2 separate regions of the Homo sapiens genome follow, and region 1 is linked to region 2. The links are contacts of gene promoters, found by promoter capture Hi-C in blood cells and fetal thymus (Javierre and others, 2016). All regions are on one chromosome and are shown on one strand. The core of a region is centred on a gene start or on the middle of the fragment in contact, and the rest is flanking DNA. Distances in the headings are between cores, read along the strand shown.

Evidence for each region. Contacts are between HindIII fragments. The CHiCAGO score rates a contact against its expected background, and 5 or more counts as called.
Region 1: a fragment that was not itself captured here is called in contact with the fragment with the promoter of GMEB1 in region 2 in 2 of 17 cell types (M1 macrophages and M2 macrophages); the score reaches 5.5 in M1 macrophages.

Annotation. Positions count from the first base shown.
Region 1 is chr1:29,038,487-29,042,093 of GRCh38, forward strand. It overlaps EPB41 (erythrocyte membrane protein band 4.1), which reads left to right. Exons shown (of 21, transcript NM_001376013.1): 11 at 768-940. Among named protein-coding and RNA genes, the nearest start is that of TMEM200B, 84 kb to the right of the region's middle. The HindIII fragment of the contact is 8,836 bases long and covers 1-3,607 here.
Region 2 is chr1:28,666,795-28,670,660 of GRCh38, forward strand. GMEB1 (glucocorticoid modulatory element binding protein 1) reads left to right here and starts at 1,990. Exons shown (of 10, transcript NM_001319674.2): 1 at 1,990-2,045. RefSeq lists silencers at 1,962-2,101, 2,132-2,241, 2,252-2,541 and enhancers at 3,072-3,121, 3,172-3,231. The HindIII fragment of the contact is 26,935 bases long and covers 1-3,866 here.

The DNA of each region.
Region 1 (3,607 bases), core at 275-2,774, 370 kb after region 2:
CAATTACCTCAAAGGGAAAAATACTCTCTTTTTGGTAGTATTTGATGTAGTAATTTATGTCCTTATTCAACAAATATTTATTGGATATCATATTTATGCCAGGCACTATGCCAGAAGCAAAAACACAAAGATGAATAAGCCATGGTCTTTGTTCTTTACTCCTAGAGAATTCAGTCTTATAGGGGAGACCAGCATAGAAATAGATTGTTTTAATTCAGTATGGTACAAAGAGTACATAGAGTACCATATAGGAAAAAGATGGGGTTCCCAACTGAGTTTAAAAATACACCAAATAACCTGTTAAATAGATTACCAGGCATTAATTGAGTTTGGAGTGCATTTGACAAAACTGTCATTCCAGGAGAGTGGAAAAAGAGCTCTGGGCTTCGACTTTGTTACTGCCCAATGTCCTAACAGCTGTGTGACCTTAAGTAACTTCTTTTTTGAGGTTCAGTTTCCTATATCTATAAAATGGGGAAAACATTATAAGGATGTAGTAAAAATACTGCAGTGCTGTAAAAACATTTTGAAAACTGTAAGGCCCTTTCTATAGAGCTATAAATAAAATTAATATAGGTCCCAACTGGTTGCTTTGAGAAATGACAAAGAACTAAAATAATGATTACTTGATTGAAAATTTCTTAGTAACTATATGGAAACCCTGAGAATTGTGAAACTTTTTTATTCTTGATTTTGTTTTTAATTTTACAGTTTTAGAATAATAAGATGAATATATAATAATATGACTATTACGATTTTCCCCCCAGATTGACATCTACAGACACCATTCCCAAAAGCAAATTTCTTGCGCTAGGATCCAAATTTCGATACAGTGGCCGGACTCAAGCTCAGACCAGGCAAGCTAGTGCTCTAATTGACAGGCCTGCCCCACACTTCGAGCGTACAGCAAGTAAACGGGCGTCCCGGAGCCTCGATGGAGGTTTGTATTGAATATTAATGATTTCTTGTGATCATAATTCATTTGGAAAGATAAAGGAAGTGCAATTATCTATAAGAGAACCGAATTAAAGAAGCTCAGGGTTGGGCCTGGTGCAGTGGCTTACACCTGTAATCCTAGCACTTTGGGAGGCCAGGGCAGGTGGATTGCCTGAGCTCAGGAGTTTGAGACCAGCCTGGGCAACACAGTGAAACCCCATCTCTACTAAAAATACAAAAAATTAGCTGGGCGTGGCGGCATATGCCTGTAATCCCAGCTACTTGGGAGGCTGAGACAGGAGAATTGCTTGAACCCAGGAGGTAGAGGTTGTAGTGAGCCGAGATCATGCCGTTGCACTCCAGCCTGGCTGACAGAGTGGGACTCTGTCTCAAAAAAAAAAGAAGCTCAGTGGTAAAATGAAAGGGATCTTACTAATTGTCTAATCTTAATAGAATCATCTTAAGAAAAGGAAAATTGAGATTCCGAGAGTAGTGACTAGATCATGGTTCCACTGCTAGGTAGTGGTGGATCAAACAGTACCAGAATTAGAATTATAAATCTAAATCTATCAGAATCTCTACCAGAGAGTAAAAATCTAATGTAGTATGCTGAACTGAAGGCCTCTTAGCATTTAAAAATAGCTAATATTTTTCTGCAGTCCTGGTAACACAGGAGGCTGAGGCAGGAGGATAGCTTGAGCCCAGGAGGTGGAGGCTGCAGTGTGCACCTCTGTACTCCAGCCTAGGCCACAAAGTGAGACTCTGTCTCTAAAAAATAAATAAATAAATAATAGCTATTTTCTATAGTAGAAAAGAGGAAAAGGGTCTGCCTTACTACAACAATCTTTTTTTTTTTCTTAATTTTTTTATTTTTTGAGATGGAGTCCCACTCTGTGGCCCAGGCTGGAGTGCAGTGACTCAACCTCGGCCCACTGCAACCTCTGCCTACCAAGGTTCAAGTGATTCTCCTGCCTTAGTCTCCCGAGTAGCTGTGATTACAGGCGTGTGCCACCATTCCTGGCTAATTTTTGTATTTTTAGTAGAGACAGGGTTTCACTATGTTCGCCAGGCTGGTCTCAAACTCCTGACCTCAGGTTATCTACCCACCTCGGCCTCCCAAAGTGCTGAGATTATGGGTGTGATCCACCATGCCCAGCCATACAAGAATAATTTAAAAAGAAGTTTGCCACGTGGCAATTATGGATAGGAAACTCCAATATCCCATTGTTGGAGTCTCCAAATGTTTAAATAAAATAGGGAGGAAATACACAAATTTCGTGATTGTATATACTGACAGAAGACCTGTCTGAATTGATATATTGTGGGAGGATCTTCTAAGTTAGCATTTGAGCCCATTACTGAAACGAGGTAATAAGCTACATTCAGTTCCTTATGTCACTAAAAAAAGAGTGGCTAATAAATAAAAATTCAGGCTGGGTGCGGTGGCTCACACCTATAATCGCAGCACTTTGGGAGGCCAAGGTGGATGGATCACATGAGGCCAGAAGTTCGAGATCAGCCTGGCTGACATGGTGAAACCCTGTCTCTAGTAAAAATACAAAAATCAGCTGGGCATGGTGGCGCACGTCTGTAATCCCAGCTACACAGGAGGCTGAGGCATGAGAATCGCTTAAACCCGGGAGGCGGAGGCTGCAGTGAGCCAAGATTGCGCCATTGGACTCCAGCCTGGGAGACAGAGTGAGAGTGTCTCATAAATAAATAAATTAAATAAATAAATAAATAAATAAATAAATAAATAAATAAATGTTCAGAAGGGCCGGGCATGGTGGCTCATGCCTGTAATCCCAGCACTTTGGGAGCCCGAGGCAGGAGGATCACTTGAGGTCAGGAGTTCAAGACCAGCCTAGCGAACAGGGCGCAACCCTGCCTCTACTAAAGGTACAAAAATTAGCTGGGCTTGGTGGCGCACGCCTGTAATCCCAGCTACTCAGGAGGCTGAGGCACGAGAATTGCTTAAACCTGGGAGGCAGAGGTTGCAGTGAGCTGAGATGGCACCTCTGTACTCCAGCCTGGGCAACAGAGTGAGACTCTGTCTCAAAATAAAATAAAGTAAAAGATATAAGTTCAGAAGGCAATAATCCAAATAGGGTATTATTGATTACCTTTATTATTTGTTACCAGTGTACAAGCCTATGCTATCTACTGTAAAAGCAAGATACATGTTGTTATGTGCATATATAGTGTGCAGAGTGGGACGCCGTCTCAAAAAAAAAAAAGAAGCTCAGTGGTAAAATGAAAGGGATCTTACTAATTGTCTAATCTTAATAGAACCATCTATTAATAGAACAGGTTAAGGATTTGGGTTCTGGAATCAGACAGACCTGATTCCAATATCAACCCTAGCATTTATGAGCTATGTTCCTAGGCAAATTACTTCATTTCTCTGTGCCTCAGTTTTATCATTTGTAAAATGGAGATGATGATAGTATCATACTACCTCAAAGAGTTTTCATGAGGAATAAATGAGGTGGCATATGTATGGTATTTAGCACAATGGCTGCCACTTAATGAGTTCCCCCCACAAAATGTTAGCTATCATTAAGATGCTGTTTTTCTGGCTGTAACATTTGTATCATCTGGAACCATGCTACTATATTCTGGTTTGTAGATGTATGCAGACCCTCTCATGAGATATGTAGACCATTGTACA
Region 2 (3,866 bases), core at 740-3,239:
TGGGAGGCCAAGGCAGGAGGATTGCTTGAGCCCAGGAGTTAGAGACCAGAGTGGGCAACATGGTAAAACCCCATTTCTACTAAAAATGTAAAAATTAGCCAGGCATGGTGGTTCCTGCTTGTGGTCCCAGCTACTCCGGGGGCTGAGGCAGGAGGACTGCTTGAGCACTGGAGGCTGGGGCTGCAGTGAGCCGAGATCCCGCCACTGCACTCAGCCTGGGAGATCAACCCAGACCGGTCCCCCCCACCAAAAAAAAGAAAAAAAGAAAGAAAAGAAAAGAAGGGCCGGGCGCGGTGGCTCACGCCTGTAATTCAACACTTTGGGAGGCTGAGGCGGACGGATCACAAGGTCAGGAGATCGAGACCATCCTAGCTAAGACGGTGAAACCCTGTCTCTACTAAAAAATACAAAAAAATTAGCCAGGCGTAGTGGCGGACGCCTGTAGTCCTAGCTACTGAGGAGACTGAGGCAGGAGAATGGTGTGAACCCAGGAGGCGGAGCTTGCAGTGAGCCGAGATTGCGCCACTGCACTCCGGCCTGGGCGACAGAGCAAGACTCCGTCTCAAAAAAAAAAAAAAAGAGAAACTTACTTAGTAGGGTTGCTGTGAGGATTATACAAGACAGAAGCATCTTCACCAAGCCATAGGCCATAGAAAGGTCTTTTTGTTTGTTTGTTTTTTGAGATAGAGTCTCACTCTGTTGCCCAGGCTGGAGTGCAATGGCCTGATCTCGGCTCACTGCAACCTCCGCCTCCCGGGTTCAAGTGATTCTCCTGGCTCAGCCTTCTGAGTAGCTGGGACTAGAGGCGCGTGCCACGACGCCCGGCTAATTTCTGTATTTTTAGTAGAGACGGGGTTTCACCATGTTGCCCAGGCTGGTCTCGAACTCCTGGTCTCAAGTGATCTGTCCGCCTCGGCTTCCCAAAGTGTGGGATTACAGGCGTAAGCCACCACACCTGGCCATAGAAAGGTCTTAATACGGCCGGGCGCGGTGGCTCACGCCTGTAATCCCAGCTCTTTGGGAGGCCCAGGCGGGTGGATCATGAGGTCAGATATTGAGACCATCCTGGCCAACATGGTGAAATCCTGTCTTTACTAAAATACAAAAAAAAAAAAAAATTGCCGGGCGTGGTGTCGCGCGCCTCTAGTGCCAGCTCTTCGGGAGGCTGAGGCCGGAGAATCACTTGAACCCAGGAGGCTGAAGCTGCAGTGAGCCGAGATCGCGCCACTGCACTCCAGCCTGGCCAAAGAGCAAGACTCTGTCTAAAAAAATAAATAAATAAATAAAAAATAAAGGTCTTAATACTTGTTAATTACTATTACTGACCCCAGGAACTCTCTGAAGCACTTTTCATGCAGGTATCACCTTCTTTAGCACTCACATTATGTCTTATCGGAAACAGGTTTAGAGCTGTCAAGAAATTCCTCCAGAGTCGTTTACACTTCCAGCAGGGGAGTCAAGACTTCAACCCAGAAACTCACAAGCAGGAAAAACTTGGCAAACAGGCACGGGTCAGACAATGCTTAGGGCTTGCTCAAGGACTCGTGACCAGTTACTGATCTATGCAGATCTTCTGATTGCAAACTGATAGCTGGATTGTAACTTGAAGGGTCCGATAAGATGTAAACTTCATAAAACAGGATTTGGGGAGGTAAATGGAGTAGAGTCCTCCAGAGGAGTCGAGAAAGCTAGCTTGGCCCTCAATTGTGGTTGAGGTGATTCTTTCATTTAGGGCCTATTTTCCTCATCTATGAGTGCGGGAAGGAGAGTTACTGGGGTCTCTAGCGACCTTTCCAACACTGATTTTCAAGGGCGAAAGAATTCTGCTTAGGTAAGGCCCAAATCCCTTGGCTAAGGTTAATCCTCGGTGGGACCGGCAATAGGGACGCGTCCCCTTTAAGGCGCCAGCTCTCCGGCGGCGGCGGCCGGAAGTGTTGAAGCCCGGCCTGGCGGCGGCGGTGGCGGTAGCTGCCGTGGCGGCCTCTGCGCATGCTCCGTCGCCTGCCCGCCCTGGCCGCTCGCCGCCCGCCCGCCCGACGGAGACGGTGAGGAGGGGGAGGGGTGGGCGCGCGGGCGCGGGGTGGGGTGGGGGCGGGGGGGCGGGCGCGGGGGCCGCGCGGCGGCCGGCGAGGGCGGGCGGGCGCGCAGGGGGCGGGGGGCTGCTGCCTCCGCGGGCGCCTCCCCACGCCCTGTGCGTGCCGCCGCCGCCGCCGGGGAGCGAGCGGACGTCGCGGCGCCGCGGGGGGGTGGGGGGACGCTGCCGCTGGGTCCGCCCGAGCCGCCGGGCCGCCCCCAGCGCAGCCGGCCGCGCCGCCGGGGCTCGGGCCCCAGACCAGGGCGGCGGGAACCGGCGAGTCCACCACTGGGGGGGCCCCGGCGCCCCCGGACCGAGGGGCCCGGAAGTACTCGGCTCAGGGGCCAGGAGGGGCCGGAGTGACTCCGGACTGAGAGGGCCAGGCGCCCAGGACCCCATCGAGGGGTCCGGGGAGCCTGGGGTATCCCCAAAGGCGGGGTCCGGGGAGCACCGGGCCCTTGGATGAGGAGCTGGTTGGAGGCCTGGGTCCTGCCCAGTGGGAGGGGGACGATAGGTGCTGGAAGCCCGGATGCCCGCCTGGGAGGAGACCCTCTCGGAGCCTTGGCGGGAGAGCAAGAGTACAGAGTGGGTTCTTCTGAGGAGAGCAGAGTCCAGCTTATCCCGAGGGGCGCGGTAGAGGCCTCGGCCACTCAGAACAAGGGAAAAAAGGGCAGGTTTTTTCCAAAGGCAGGGAAGGAAGAGGAGCTCTAAGGGGAAGTGAGCAGGCCCAGGTCTCCCCACAGATGAGCGCGTGGTAGGAAGACTCCTAGAGCCTCCTGAAGTACGAAAGAGCAGCGTCCAAACCTGAGGGGATGGAAGGTGTCTAGGTGCCTCTTGATGTCTAGGTGGAGAACAAAGTAACCCGCTCGGTCAGGGGATGGAGAAACCTATCTTTTTGAGAGAAGCAGAGATCGTTGAGGAAAGATGCTTAAGGTGTTCCCGCTTTCTGAAATGACAGGAATTGGCCAGGTGTTATCTAATTGAGGGGCAGGAGAGATGAAGGCAAAATCTCAACCCGAGGGTCTTTGGAGGATGATCCACAAGACAAGAGGGTGAAGTCTTGACCTAGACAGCAGAGCAGGCGCAGCCCTGGATTCTCTCAAGATGAGAGAAATCTCAAAACCACTTCCTAGTAGACACAGATGGGGCCTTGATTGGTGTCTGTTTAGGCCAATCAAGACGGGTTTTAGGAAAAGAGACTGTCAGACATAATTCTAGTCTTGAGGGATTATCTTCTTCCTCCTTGCCTCTTCTAATAGTTACCAAAGTGCATTTGGGGACCCTTTTTATTTATTTATTTATTTATTTGTTTTTTGAGACGGAGTCTCACTCTATCGCCCAGGCTGGAGTGGTGGCTCACTGCAACTTCCGCCTCCTGGGTTCAAACGATTCTCCTGCCTCAGCCTCCCGAGTAGCTGGGACTACAGGCGCGTGCCACCACACCAGCCAATTTTGTTGTTGTTGTTGTTGTTGTTTGAGACGGAGTTTCACTCCTGTTGCCCAGACTGGAGTGCAATGGCGCGATCTCAGCTCACTGCAACCTCCGCCTCTTGGGTTCAAGCGATTCTCCTGCCTCACCCTCCCGAGTAGCTGGGGCTACAGGCGCCCGCCACCACACCCAGCTAATTTTTGTATTTTTAATAGAGACGGGGTTTCACCATGTTGGCCAGGCTGGTCTCGAACTCCCAACCTCAGGTGATCCCACATCCTCAGCCTCCCAGAGTACTGGGATTACAGGCGTGAATCACTGCGCCTGGCCCAACCAGGCTAATTTTTTTGTGTTTTTAGTAGA